Linked DNA regions of Homo sapiens: regions 2, 3 and 4 are each linked to region 1. Evidence: promoter capture Hi-C in 16 types of primary human blood cells and fetal thymus (Javierre and others, 2016). All regions are on one chromosome and are shown on one strand. The core of a region is centred on a gene start or on the middle of the fragment in contact, and the rest is flanking DNA. Distances in the headings are between cores, read along the strand shown. Region 1 holds the start of PDE9A (phosphodiesterase 9A). Region 2 has its middle 37 kb from the start of WDR4. Region 3 has its middle 41 kb from the start of LINC01668. Region 4 has its middle 22 kb from the start of LINC01668.

What was found. Contacts are between HindIII fragments. The CHiCAGO score rates a contact against its expected background, and 5 or more counts as called.
Region 2: a fragment that was not itself captured here is called in contact with the fragment with the promoter of PDE9A in region 1 in 1 of 17 cell types (naive CD4 T cells); the score reaches 5.1 in naive CD4 T cells.
Region 3: a fragment that was not itself captured here is called in contact with the fragment with the promoter of PDE9A in region 1 in 11 of 17 cell types (endothelial precursors, non-activated CD4 T cells, M0 macrophages and 8 more); the score reaches 8.0 in endothelial precursors.
Region 4: a fragment that was not itself captured here is called in contact with the fragment with the promoter of PDE9A in region 1 in 2 of 17 cell types (M2 macrophages and M1 macrophages); the score reaches 5.9 in M2 macrophages.

What each region holds. Positions count from the first base shown.
Region 1 is chr21:42,651,211-42,654,870 of GRCh38, reverse strand. It overlaps PDE9A (phosphodiesterase 9A), which reads right to left and starts at 1,250. Exons shown (of 20, transcript NM_002606.3): 1 at 988-1,250. The coding sequence starts at 1,056. LOC101928255 (a long non-coding RNA gene) reads left to right here and starts at 1,213. Exons shown (of 3, transcript XR_244322.4): 1 at 1,213-3,281. RefSeq lists an enhancer at 1,565-2,286. The HindIII fragment of the contact is 24,905 bases long and covers 1-3,660 here.
Region 2 is chr21:42,840,722-42,844,381 of GRCh38, reverse strand. It overlaps a transcript of WDR4 not described here. Among named protein-coding and RNA genes, the nearest start is that of WDR4, 37 kb to the left of the region's middle. The HindIII fragment of the contact is 3,086 bases long and covers 66-3,151 here.
Region 3 is chr21:42,819,527-42,823,186 of GRCh38, reverse strand. No RefSeq gene overlaps it. Among named protein-coding and RNA genes, the nearest start is that of LINC01668, 41 kb to the right of the region's middle. The HindIII fragment of the contact is 1,993 bases long and covers 985-2,977 here.
Region 4 is chr21:42,800,169-42,803,828 of GRCh38, reverse strand. No RefSeq gene overlaps it. Among named protein-coding and RNA genes, the nearest start is that of LINC01668, 22 kb to the right of the region's middle. RefSeq lists an enhancer at 2,367-2,948. The HindIII fragment of the contact is 9,598 bases long and covers 1-3,660 here.

The DNA of each region.
Region 1 (3,660 bases), core at 1-2,500:
AAGCGGGCTACGGTGGGAGAGGGCTGTACTTTCCATTTCACGGGGATCAAGCCGGGCACAGGGTGAGGGAGGCTTGTTGGCTTAAATCTACTGATTAAACTGGCCAAATGCACCTCTGGGAACAGGAAAGACTCAAGCCTGGCCGGCACCTGCTCTGTGCCTGGCTGGGGCATCTCTCCCTGGCCTCCTTCAGTGGAGTACTCCGTGGGCAGAAAGGTGAGAAGCAGCTGCAAGGGCTTCCTGAAACGCCCAGCTGAGGTTTGAGGGATTTCCTCACAATGGCTTTTCCCTGGGGACTTTAGGGGGAGCTCATGAGAGCCCCTTCCAAGCCGGCGCGCTCATTGTCCCTCCCTGCCCGTCAGAGGGGGCCACGAACAAAGGGGGTCTATTCTGAACCCCTCTCCCGTGTAACTCAAGTCCGCTAGGAACGCTGGACATTCGAGGGACTTCCTATCTCCGCACAGCAGGGGAGAGCCGGACCCGCTGCCCCCCAGGCTCTCCGCGGGGCCCCGGAGGTGCAGCGGCCCGAGTCCCCCTCTGCAGTCGGAGCTACTCACCTGCGGGGGAGCAGTGTCCCCGCCGGCGCCCCCCGCACCTGCCCCCGCGCGACAGGAAGCGGCGGCTGCTCGCCCCCTCCGCGGACCACGACCCCGGGGCTGCCCGGCGGGCCGATCCACCGGAAATTAAAGGCTTCATGTGCCAGCCCTTGAATGTAAAAACTCAGCCTAATCAGATTTTCAAAAAGAAAAGCTCTGCCTGTGAAACGGAAACACTAGCCCGCCCCCCCACCCCCCACCCCCCAGGGCGAGTCGCCCCTTTCCCCGGGGAGCCGGCGCGTGGGGACCCCCGCCCCCGACCAGAGCTGGCGGAGCGCACGGAGGCCGCAGCCTGGACCGGCAGACGCACGGACAGTCCCGCCCCGCCGCGCCCGGCCCCGGCGCTGTCACCCGGGGGGAGGAGGGGGTGTCTGGGTGGGGGAGGGGCTACCTTCTGAATGCGTCCATCGATGTCCAGGTAGATGGCCTTGGGCCGGTAGCTGGAGGAGCCGGATCCCATCCTGCGCCCGGCGGCTGCACTCGGACTTTTTACTGTACTTTCCCGACGCCAGCCGCCGCGGGAGGCGGGGGAGGGGAGCAGGGGAGGGGGCGGGCGGGGGGCGGCCCGCGGCGCTCAGCCAACCACAGCCGCGCCGCCACCGGGCCCGGGACGCCCGGGAGCCGCCGCCGCGCGCCGCAGGGTCTCCTCCGCTCGGCTCGCGCTCGGGCTCGGGCTCCGACTCCGGCTCGCGCGCTCCTCCTCCCGGCCGCCCGCCCGCCCCTCCCCCTCCCCCCTCCCCCCTCCCTCCCCCGTCTCTCCTCTCTCCCCTCCTCTTCACTCCCTGCACCTCCCTTCCCCCTCTTTCTTCTTCCCTTGACTCCAGCCCCCGGTCGGCTGCCTATCTCCCGATGCCCCCTGGACAGCTGTGCAGAGCCCTGAGCGACCCCTTCGGCCCGGAGCCGTCGCCTCCCCACGCAGCCCGTCCCTCCTAAGCCAGCGCTGGGCTGAGCGTGGCCGCGCCGCTGTGGACCCCCCAGCCCCGCCGGGAAAACTCCCCTCGCTCCTCTCTCCCTGCTGCGACCGCCACCCTCATTTCATTTGAATAGAAAACGGGAAAAGTTCCTTCTCGGTCACCCACAGCCTTCCCCTAACTAGGGGGCGTCAGCCTCCTCCAGCTGCGCCCGGAGCTGAAATGGCGATTTTATTTCTGTCCTGTATGGGGCCGGACCGAGGATTACCCCGCCACAAGCTATCTGCTGGATTCAGCAGTTTCGTCCCCTCCCCGCTTGTGTGAATTGCTACAGGGAGTGTGGGAAAGGCGGGAGGGGAAGGGGGCTGTGGGCATCCTCTGGATCTGCGGAGCAGGGAAGGGCTGCCTTGGCCGCCCCCAGTTCTCCTGGGCTCCTCCATTGGGAATGGGGTTGGCGGCTGGGGGAGGAGGCTCAGATGCCGTGGTCCTGGCCCTGGGTGCAGGTCGCCTTTGGAAGCAAGTGTCAAAGCCAGCCGGAGCATGTGCTATTGTTTCGTTGGAAGTGAGTTCCAAGCCACCGCTTTCCATCTGTTAAGTGTCTGGGTGCTGCTTATTGAGAGAGTCTGGTGCACCCAGGCTCCTCCCTCCCCTTCGGGCCTGCTGGAGCCGGCCAGCCAGTGCCAGGGCCAGTGGTCACTTCCTCTCCCTCCCCTGGCCAGCCTGGTCTCCACCTGGTGGACGGTCACAGGCTTTACAGACACCCCCAGGGCCATCTGGAGCTCTGGTGGCAGCTGGGGTCCTGGGGAAGGTGAGAGCTCCTTGCCTGTCCGTGGGGGTGGCATCATCCTGTGAGGTAAGTGATCGTCCTCAGCCTTTGGCCAGTCCATCCTGTGTCACTTTATGTCCCCCCACCTGCTCTCATGGCGGGGGGCACGCTCTCAAATAACAACGGCTTGGAACTCGGTACCTTGGCACCCCCTGCCCACAGCTCCAGTGGAGTCCGTGTCAGAGCTTTGGCACCATGAGTTGTGCTTTTCAAGTGACAGGATGAGAAGGGGACAGCCTGGAGGCCTTTGGGGTGGGGAGACCCAGCTGGGTGGTTACAGCGGGCCAGCTGACTCGCCATGGGGATACTGTGTCCCCGGCTCATTGAAGTGAGCACTATTACTAGTAGTTCAATTTGTTGTCAAATGTTCCGATGCTATTTGGGCTAATCCAGAGATCGTGCTGTTGGGACCGCCTGTGCTGCCTGGCATGGAGTTCTTACCAGCAGATGGCTCATTGGCTTGGCACTTAGTTATTCTCCATCCCTTATTGTCATCTGGCCTAGTCTTCTGTAACCATTTCCTCCAAGAGCCCCAGAAGGACGAGTGCCCGCCCATGGGGGGTGGTTCTGCAGGGCAGTTCCCCAGGAGGGTGGAGGGTGTGGCTCTGAGACTCTGTGTGCGTCCAGCACCAGTGCAGGCTGGCCCCTCACACTGCCTGGCTGATTCTGTGCTCAGGAGAATAATCGCATCTATAATTACTTTGCACTTTTAGGAGCTGGACTGGACCCCTGTGTAGATACTGGATCGATGAGGCCTCAGCAGCTGCCTAGAGAGGAACCCTTTCCTCTCCCAGATCCCCATGGAGCAGTGCGGTCTTCCATTCGTCAACAATCTCATTACTGCGTGTTGGGTGCTGTTCTGGGCACTGGGAATTCAGTAGTGAACAGAATAAGCAGAGATCCCTGGCCTGAAGAAGCTGGCATTCTCTGGGGAAGACAGACACGATGGTATAAATAAATAGAATGTGTAGGGTGTTGGATAAAAATTAAGGCAAAGAAGAAAAATCCATAGTGAGACCCCATCTCTAAAAAAGAAAAATCCTGCGGGGAAGGGGATATAGAATGTGCAGTGTGAGGGAATGTGCAGTGTGAGGGAGTTGGAATTTTAGAGAAAGTGGCCAGGCAAAAGGTCACATAGGAGGAGGGATCTTACAGGTGTTAGGAGCAAGGAGCCTGTGTGTGTCAGAGGGAAGGACGTTCTGGCACAGAAGCAGCCTTATGCAGGAGGCCACGTGGCCAGAGCGGAGGGAGGGAGTGGGCTGTGGGGGACCGTAGTGGGCTGTGAGGTCAGAGAGGTGACGGGGGCAACCCCGCGTGGTCACACGAG
Region 2 (3,660 bases), core at 359-2,858, 190 kb before region 1:
TATGTATTCTGCGGCTGCTTTTGTTTTTTTCTCTTTATCCCTGGTTTTCTGTAATTTGATAAGCTTTAGGGTATGTGTGTGTGTTTTGGGGGTTTGTCAAGATTTGTAGGCTTTGTCATTTTTATGCAATTTGGAAATATTCTAGCTATTCGGTCTCTTCCCCTGCCTCCTGCAGTCCCAGGTACTCGAATGGGCTGCTTGCTGTGGACTCATGGGTCCGTGAGTCTGCTCATCTTCTTCAGTTTGCGTTTCATTTTTGGTAGATTCTGTTTCCACGTCTTCAAGCCCACTGATCTTTTAAGCTGCTGTTAAGCTATGGCCATTTTCTGTATGAGCCATTGTGTTTTTTCATCTCTATAAATTTGGTTTTGGTATTTAAAAAAATGTCTTCCAGCTAGGCTGGCGGCTCACACCTGTGATCCCAACACTTTGGGAAGTTGAGGCAGGGGGATTGCTTGAGCCCAGGAGTTTGAGACTAGCCTGGGCAATACAGTGAGACCTCATCTTTAAAAATAATTAAAAAGGTCAGGTGCGGTGGCTCACGCCTGTAATCCCAGCATTTTGGGAGGACAGTGGATCACAAGGTTAGGAGTTTGAGACCAGCTTGGCCAATATGGTGAAACCCTGTCTCTACTAAAAATATAAAAAATTAGCTGGGCACATGCCTGTTGTCCCAGTTATTTGAGAGGCTAAAGCAGGAGAATCGCTTGAACCTGGGAGGCGGAGGTTGCAGTGAGCCGAGATCGCGCCACTGTACTCCAGCCTGGGCGACAGAGCAAGAATCTGTCTTAAAAAAAAAAAAAATTAGCCAGGTGTGGTGGCACATGCCTGTAGTCCCAGCTGCTCGGGAGGCTGAGGCGGGAGGATCACTTGAGCCTGGGAGTTTGAGGCTGCAGCAAGCCGTGATTGCACTACTGCATTCCAGCCTGGGTGACAGAGTGACGGTCTCAAAAAAAAAAAAAAAAAAAAAAAAAAGCACACCAGTGTCTTCCATTTCTCTTTTAATCATAATCATGCTTTAAAAAATACCCTCGAGCATATGGAGCAAATTTAAGATAATTGTTCCTTTTCTGCTAATTCATTATTACTGTCATATCTAGGTCTGTTTCTGTCGACTGTGGACCACTTATGTGCGATCCGTGGACCACTTGCGTGCGATCTGTCGGCCGACGATGAGCTTGTTCGGATGTAGCTCCATCGTAAGTCGAGGAGCATCTGTGATTTGTCCTCTGCTTATGGGATATGTTTTTCCGCTACTGAGTCTGTGTAGTAAATTTTTGACTAGGAACATGGTGAGATTTACATTATTAAGTGTGAAGTTTTGTTAAGGTTCCTTTAAAGAATATTACGCTTTCTGGCCGGCTGTTAAGCCCCATGTAGATTAATTTGGTCTTTTTCAGGTTTGTTTTAAGCTCACTAGAGTGAGGCTGAAGTAGCCTTTCCTTGGATGATTTAGTCCTTCCCAGGTGTGACCCTCCTGCTGTCCCTGCAGAATCCTGGGTATTCAGAAGTGTCTGCACACTGGCTGGAGGGACGAGGGTGATTTCTGTGCAAGGCGGGAATTGTTTGTCTTACCCTCCGGAGGATTGTTTTTTCCTCAAAAGCTACTCTTTGGCGTCCTGGGGTTTTACAGAATGTGTAGGTTGGTGTTCATCCGAAGACCCCAACGGGACGCTGGTGTGTATTTCCTTTCATCTGTGCAGCTCCCCTCCCCTTTGCGGGTATTCTGTCCCCAGTTCTAGCTGCCTTGGCCTTACCTATACCAGGGAGGCCAAGTGGCCCGCTCGCCCCACTCCCCTTCCAGACAGGGTGCAGACAGGGCCCTCCCATCTCCTGGACGGCGGCGGCCCCTGTGCAGAACTTCATGGGCACCTGGCTGTCTGGGGGCCTCTTCCCCAGGGAGTCTCCTGGTGGTGGCCGTGTTGCCTCAGGCTCACTGTGCACTAGGCAGGTCACGTCAATGCCACCTGAGGGGCAGGGGTTACCACCCTGTGGTTCAGGTGAGAAGCCCGAGGCCCAGGTGAGGAGTGTCTGGCAGTCCGTGCAGTGTCTGGACAGTATGCCAGCCCCTGCCCGGAGGCCCAGCTTCTCCAGCCCAGCCCACACCCACCAGGAAATGCCCCGATTTTACTCCCCTGGGGCAAAGGCCCTTGGCTGGCTGAGCATCCCCTCTCCCAGCACTCGGAGGCACCTGCAGTTGCTCAGCTGTTCATTGAGTGCTGGGAGTGGAAACTCATACGCTGAGCGGCAGTGACGCTGCGGAGCTGACAAACCCCACAGCCCGCCCGGTCACCTGCTTCACCGAGGGCCACAGCCCCCCCGGGGTCAGGTGGCCACAGGGGTCCTGGCCATGTGGGACATCTGTTCTGTGGCCCTGCTCAGGATGGCACCTGGCGGGGACTGGCCCTGGGGTCGAGGCATGGGCTCAGCCACTGCCCTGCAGGGACACAGCCAGGACCTCTTCCCGGCAGAGGGACTCCCCCACTAATCCCCAGAATACTGAGGGGCACGCTGGGTGCCAGGCTGGCAGGGACCCTGGGGATTCTGCAGCGAGCTGAATGGGGTGGGAGTTCCTTCTTAAAATGTGGAGTCTGGAGGCCACTCTTGGCGAAGCGCTGGTGCCCGGGGATTCTGCAGTGAGCTGGGCATGGATTCGTGAAGCTGCTCATGGTGAAGCGCTGGGGTGATGGTGGATGGGCCACAGCGCCACTGTCACAAGGAAGGTGGGTGACAGCGAGTGTTCCCTGTTCCCTTACCAGCGAGTGCCTCCCTGGGAACTTGCCCCCAGGCTGTGCTCTTGGGCCATCTCCTTCATCCTCACCTTCACAGCCACCCCTCCTTCTCCCAACTGAGGCACCTGCAGAGGAGAGGGGCCCCAGACGGGGACAGCAGGGCAGAATCCCAGCTCCCAGATCCGGGAGAGGGGGGATTGGGTGTGGCGGCAGTTTCGGGGGTAGGGGGCCAGGTGGGTGTGGGACCCAGGGGCGTGGTTTCAATCCTCCCCCCAGGACCTTGGGAATGGCCTCCAGGAGCCTGGCATGGGGAGGCCAGGGTCACCAGCTGAACCATCTGGACCAGAATTGCACAGCAGCGCCCTCTCCTCTACAGCAAGACGTCACCCAGGGGTCCCCACAGAGGAGGCAGGGAAGCTTGAGGGTCCCAGAGGAGCGTGGAGCATGCACCATGCTACGCTATACCACACTACACACACGTGCACCATACACGTACATATGCATGTGCCACACATCACACACGTGCACATTCCACACCATGCACACACACCCACCACACCACACATGTACTTACGCATGTACCACACCACATCACACGTGCGCACTCCGCACCATACATGTACATACACAGGTACATCATGCACTCACATACCACACATCCACATACACACATGTGCCACACCACACTAAACTCACACCATACATGCACATATCCACATACACACAGGCACACACCACACAGAACATGCACACACCATAGAGGCACCCACACACAACCAATCACGTATGCACACACTCGCACCATATATATGCACATACATAGATTCATACATCACACATCACAGTACACCACCCCACACAGGCACTTATGCACCATATGTGCACATACACTCACACCACACATGCACACCAAACATCACATACACAC
Region 3 (3,660 bases), core at 732-3,231, 170 kb before region 1:
AAGCAAAAAGAAAACTAATGAAAACCCCATACTTTAACTTCATCCCTCTGCTTTTCAACCTTTTGTTGATTCTATCTATACCTTATTGTACTGTCTATGTCTTAAAAAGTTGTTGTAGTTATTATTTTTTATTGGTTCGTCTTTTAGTCTTTCTACTTAAAAGTAGTTTACACACCATAATTACAGTGTTATAATATTCTGTGTTTTTCTATGTACTTACTATTACCAGTGACTTTCATACCTTCAGAAGTTTTCTTACTTCTCATTAATGTCCTTTTCTTTCTGATTGAAGAAACTTTCTTAGCGTTTCTTGTAGGACAAGTCTGGTGAGGAGTGTTCTATAACCTTCTTGTACTTGAATATTGATCTCTTTCTCTAGGTTTGGAAAGTTCTTTGTTGTTATCTTTTTGAATAAACTTCTACCCCTGTTTCTTTGTCTACCTCCTCTTAGATTCACCCCTTTGAGGCTATTTTCTAGTTTTTATAGGCATGCTTCATTATTGAATAATGCCCCTAGGCATTTAATAATGTGTTAAACATTACGTGTTAAATATGGTACATTCATTTTATGGGTTATTATACAGCATTTAAAAGAATGTGAAATCCCTCAGCTTTTGTTTGTCTGGGAAAGTCTTTATTTAAGGATATTTTCTCACCAGATGTACTATTCTAGGGTAAAAGTTTTTTTTTTTTTTTTCTTCTTCAGCCCTTTAAATACATCATGCCACTCTCTCCTGGCCTGTAAGGTTTCCACTGAGAAGTCTGCTGCCAGTCATATTGTAGCTCTATTGTAAGTTATTTGTTTCTTTTCTCTTGCTACTTCTAGGATCCTTTCTTTGTCCTATGGGAGTTTGATTATTAAATGCCTTGAGGTGCTCGTCTTTGGGTTAAATCTGCTTGGTGTTCTGTAACTTTCTTGTACTTGAATATTAATGTCTTTGTCTAGGTTTAGAAAGTTCTCATTATTATCTCTTTGAATAAGCTTCTACCCCTATCTCTTTTTCTACCTCCTCTTTAAGGCAATAACTCTTAGATTTGCCCCTTAGAGGCTATTTTTTAGGTCTTGTCAGCATGTTTCATTATTTTTATTCTTTTTTCATCTCCCCTGACTGTGTGTTTTCAAATAGCCTATCTTCAAGCTCACTGATGTTTTCTTCTGTTTGATCAATTCTGCTATTAAGAGACTCTAATATGTTCTTCATTATGTCAATTGCATGTATCAATTTCAGAATTTCTGCTTGACTCTCTTGAATTATTTCAATCTATTTGTTAAATTTATCTGATAGAATTCTGAATTCTGTCTCTGTGTTATCTTGAATTTCTGTGAATTTCCTCAAAATAGCTCTTTTGAATTCTCTGTCTGAAAGATCTCGTATCTCTGTTTCTCCAGGATTGGTCCCTGCTGCCTTATTTAGTTCATTTGATGAGGTCATGTTGTCCTGAATGGTTGTGATGCTTGTGGATGTTCATTGATGTCTGGGCATTGAAGAGTTAGGTATTTATTTTAGTCTTTACAGTCTGGGTTTATTTGTACCCATCCTTCTTGGGGAGGCTTTCTAGGTATTTGAAGGGACTTAGGTGTTTTGATCTAAGCTGTATCTGCACTGGGCGGGGTGGGGGGCACCTGAAGCCCTGTAACAGTGTGGTTGTTGCAGACTCATAGAGGTATTGCCTTCGTGGTCTTGGATAAGATCCAGAAGAATTCTCTGGCTTACCAGGCAGAGATTTTGTTCTCTTCCTTTACTTTCTCCCAAACAAATGGAGTCTGTCTGTCTGTGCTGAGCTGCCTGGAGCTGAGGGTAGGGTGACACAAGCACCCTCGTGGCTACCACCACTGGGACTGTGCTGGGTCAGACCTGTAACCAGCACAACACTGAATCTCACCCAAGGCCTGCCGTAATTACTACCTTGCTACTGCCTATGTTTACTCAAGGCCATAGGGCTCTACAATCAGCAGGTGGTGAAGCCGGCCAGGCTTATATTCTTCCTTTCAGGGCAGTGAGTTCCCCCAGGCCCCAAGTGGGTCCAGGGATGCCATCTGGAAGCCAGAAACTGGACTCAAAAAACCTTAGAAATCTAGCTGGTGTTCTATTCTATTACAGTTAAGTGGGCACTCAAACCACAAGACAAATTTCTTCCCACTCTTTCCTCCCACTTCCGTAAGCAGAGGAGCCTCTCCCATGGCTACTACCGTTACAAGCCCATGGAGAGTATTACCTGATTACCATCAGTGTTCACTTAGAGCCCAGGGGCTCTTCAGTCAGCTTGTGGTAAATGCTGCCAGGCCTGGGACCCTCCCTTCAGGGCAATGGGCACCCCCTTGCCCAAGGCAGGTCCAGAATTGCCTTGCTCAGGGAACCCAAAAGACAAGGCCTTGTGTCAGGGACCCCAAGAGCCCACTTGGTGCTCTACCCCATTGTGGCCGAGATAGAAACTGAAACCAGCACATCTCAGTCTCACTCAAGGCCCGTGGTGTACTACCTGGTATCGTTACTAGTTATTCAGGGTCCAAGGGCCCTTTTGTCAGTAGGTGATGAATCCTGCCAAGACTGAGTCCTTCCCTTCAAGGCAGTAGGTTTCTGTCTGGCCCAGGTGTGTCTGGAAGTATCATCCAGGATCTAGGGCTTGGAATAGGGGCCTCACAACTCTGCCCAGTGCCCTGTCCTACTGTGGCCGAGCTGGTATGCAAGACGCAAGACAAAGTCCTCTTTATTTTTCCCTCTTGTCTCCTCAAGCAGAAGGAAGGAGTTGCTTTCATTGCCGTGAGCTGTGCTGCCTGGGGTTGGAGGAGGGATGGTGCAAGCACTCCCTTAGCCACCCAAGCTGGTGTCTAACTAGGTCACATGTCCCCCAAGTCCACTGGATCTGAGCTTAGCACAGCACTAGGTCTTGCCAAGGGGTTGCAGTCCTTGTGGCCTAGACTGCCTTTAAAGTTTATTTAGGCCCCCAGAGAACTTTAGCCTGTGGTGGCAAAGCTTGCCCAAACTGAAGTTCCAGTCACTGGGATGGGCAATTTCTCTCTGGCTAGGGCTAGTCTAAGTGCTCCCTCCATGGGTGGGCGCTGGCTGAGTTCAGCCCAGTTTTGCTTTCTGTTGTGACAAAGCAGCAGCACTGAGTTCAATGCAAAGTCCCACAATCACTGCACCTTCCCTCCCACAAGCACACAGATGATTGCTCTGTGCCATGCGACAGCTGCCAGCGGGCAGCAGAGGGATGGTGTCAGCAATTAAAGAGTGCCTTTCCTACCCTCTGTGGTGCCTCTTTCAGTAATACGAAGTTAAAACTGTGATTGCTCACCTCATTTTTTTATTATTATTATTATTATTTTTTTTTCTTGAGATGGAGTCCCACACTATCACCCAGGCCAGAGTGCTGTGGCTTGATCTTGGCTCTCTGTAACCTCTACTTTCTGGGTTCAAATGATTCTCCTGCCTCAGCCTCCCAAATAGCTGGGATTACAGGCGCCTGCCACCACGTCCGGCTAGTTTTTGTATTTTTAGTAGAGATGGGGTTTTGCCATGTTGGCCAGGTTGGTGTTGAATTCCTGATGTCAGGTGATCCACCCACCTCAGCTTCCCAAAGTGCTGGGATTATAGGCATGAGCCACCGTGCCCAGCCTGATTTTTAGTTCTTATGCAGGTGCTTTTTTGTGTAGATCAT
Region 4 (3,660 bases), core at 392-2,891, 150 kb before region 1:
CCCATTAAAACCTAATCACCCTTACCCTGCTCAAGGCCAATATCCCATCCCACAGCATGCTTTAAAAGGATTAAAGCCTGTTATCACTCGCCTGTTACAGCAGCATGGGCTTTTAAAGCCTACAAATTCCCCTTAAAATTCACCCATTTTACCTGTCCTAAAACCAGACAAGGCTTACAGGTTAGTTCAGGATCTGTGCCTTGTCAACCAAATTGTTTTGCCTATCCACCCCGTGGTGCCAAACCGATATACTCTCCTATTCTCAATACCTCCCTCCACAACCCATTATTCTGTTCTGGATCTCAAACATGCTTTCTTTACTATTCCTTTGCACCCTTCATCCCAGCCTCTCTTCGCTTTCACTTGGACTGACCCTCACATCCATCAGGCTCAGCAAATTACCTGGGCTGTACTGCCGCAAGGCTTCACAGCCAGCCCCCATTACTTCAGTCAAGCCCAAATTTCTTCCTCATCTGTTACCTATCTCAGCGTAATTCTCATAAAAACACACGTGCTCTCCCTGCCGATCGTGTCCGACTGATCTCTCAAACCCCAACACCTTCTACAAAACAACAACTCCTTTCCTTCCTAGGCATGGTTGGATACTTTCGACTTTAGATACCTGGTTTTGCCATCCTAACAAAACCATTATATAAACTCACAAAAGGAAACCTAGCTGAGCCCATAGATCCTAAATCCTTTCCCCACTCCTCTTTCCATTCCTTGAAGACAGCTTTAGAGTTGGCCCCCACGCTAGCTCTCCCTGACTCATCCCAACCCTTTTCATTACCCACAGCCGAAGTGCAGGGCTGTGCAGCCAGAATTCTTACACGAGAACCGGAACTGCGCCCTGTAGCCTTTTTATCCAAACAACTTGACCTTACTGTCTTGCCTAGCCCTCAAATCTGCATGCGGCGGCCACCACCGCACTAATACTTTTAGAGGCCCTTAAAATCACAAACTATGCTCAACTCACTCTCTACAGTTCTCATAACTTCCAAAATCTGTTTTCCTCCTCACACCTGACACATATACTTTCTGCTTCCCGGCTCCTTCAGCTGTACTCACTCTTTGTTGAGTCTCCCACAATAACCATTGTTCCTGGCGTGGACTTCAATCTGGCCTCCCACATTATTCCTGATACCACACCTGACCCCCGTGACTGTATCTCTCTGATCCACCTGATATTCACCCCGTTTCCCCATATTTCCTTCTTTCCTGTTCCTCACCCTGATCACACTTGATTTATTGATGGCACTTCCACCAGGCCTAATTGCCACACACCAGCAAAGGCAGGCTATGCTATAGTACAAGCCACTAGCCCGCCTCTTAGAACCTCTCATTTCCTTTCCATCGTGGAAATCTATCCTCAAGGAAATAACTTCTCAGTGTTCCATCTGATATCCTACTATTCCTCAGGGATTATTCAGGCCCCCTCCTTTCCCTACACATCAAGCGTGAGGATTTGCCCCCGCCCAGGGCTGGCAAATTGGCTTTACTCAACATACCCCGAGTCAGGAAACTAAAATGCCTCTTGTTCTGGGTAGACACTTTCACTGGATAGGTAGAGGCCTTTCCCACAGGGTCTAAGAAGACCACCACGGTCATTTCTTCCCTTCTGTCAGACATAATTCCTCGGTTTGGCCTTCCCACCTCTATACAGTCCTATAACGGACCAGCCTTTATTAGTCAAATCAGCCAAGCAGTTTCTCAAGCTCTTATTCAGTGAACTAATGGTCTTTTAAAAACACACCTCACCAAGCTCAGCCACCAACTTAAAAAGGACTGGACAATACTTTTACCACTTGACCTCAGAATTCAGGCCTGTCCTCAGAATGCCACAAGGTACAGCCCATTTGAGCTCCTGTATAGACGCTCCTTTTTATTAGGCCCCAGTCTCATTCCAGACACCAGACCAAGTTGGACTGCGGCGCCCTCCCCCCCGCAAAAAAAACAAAACTTGTCATCCCTACTATCTTCTGTCTAATCATACTCCTATTCGCCGTTCTCAACTACTCATAAATGCCCTGCTCTTGTTTACACTGCTGGTTTACACTGTTTCTCCAAGCCATCACAGCTGATATCTACTGGTGCTATCCCTAAATCACCACTCTTAACTCCCTCTTAAAGTAAATAAATAATCTTTGCTGGCAGGGCTATGCTGAACCTCCTTGGGCACTCTCTAGTTAGATGTCCTGGGTCCTTCCAATTCTTAGTCCTTTAATACCTGTTTTTCTCCTTGTCTTATTCCGTTCTTTTTTCAAATCATACAAAACCATATCCAGGCCATCACCAATAATTCTATACGACAAATGTTTCTTCTAACAACCCCACAATATCACCCTTTACCACAAAATCTTCCTTCAGCTTAATCTCTCCCACTCTAGGTTCCCACACCACCCCTAATCCCGCTCAAAGCAGCCCTGAGAAACATCGCCCATTATCTCTCCATACCACCCCCCAAAAATTTTCGCCGCCCCAACACTTCAACACTATTATGTTTTATTTTTCTTATTAATATAAGAAGACAGGAATGTCAGGCCTCTGAGCCCAAGCTAAGCCATCATATCCCCTGTGACCTGCACGTATACATCCAGATGGCCTGAAGTAACTGAAGAATCACAAAAGAAGTGATATTTAAATAGCCGGTTCCTGCCTTAACTGATGACATTCCACCACAAAAGAAGTGAAAATGGCCAGTCCTTGTCTTAACTGATGACATTACCTTGTGAAATTCCTTCTCCTGGCTCATCCTGGCTCAGAAAGCTCCCCCACTGAGCACCTTGTGACCCCCCACTCCTGCCCGCCAGAGAACAACCCCCCTTTTTCCTTTACCTACCCAAATCTTATAGAACGGCCCCACCCCTATCTCCCTTCACTGACTCTCTTTTCGGACTCAGCCTGCCTGCACCCAGGTGAAATAAACAGCCTTGTTGCTCACACAAAGCCTGTTTGGTGGTCTCTTCACACGGACGCGTGTGAAAGATACAACCCCTGGCCTTCAGGTTTTCAAGGTACAATTGGTCAACTCACCGTATTTCGTAGTCTAAAGGAAACTCTAGGAAACCGCAAGGTGGTGTCAGCTTCCTTGACGATTCAGAGAGGTGGTTCCGAACGGGCGCAGTGGCTCATGCCTGTAATCCCAGCACTTTGGGAGGCCGAGGCAGGTGGATCTCTTGAGATCAGGAGTTTGAGAACAGCCTAGCCAACATGACAAAAACCCCGTTCTCTACTAAAAATAAAAAATTAGCTGGGTGTGGTGTCACATGCCTGTAATCCCAGCTACTTGGGAAGTTGAGGCAGGAGAATTACTTGAACCTGGGAGGCAGAGGTTGCAGTGAGCCAAGATCGCACCATTGCACTCCAGCCTGGGCGACAAGAGCAAAACTCCACCTCAAACACCACCACCACCACCACCACCACCACCAAAGAGGTGGCTCTCAGGCTCTTGAGGAGCTGCAAGACTGGCAAGAGGTTTGCTTAGTATTTGACCTCATGCTTGCTTCTCTTCAGTCTTCTCAACATGAGGAAAAATAAGCCTCTGTCATGTTCATGCTATCAAGATAAATCAGTCTTATTTTCATTTTCTATAACCAGCAGCAAAACATAGTATCCAACCAATGGACAGTTTTTTACCCCAAGTCTGGAAGTTCTCCTTTT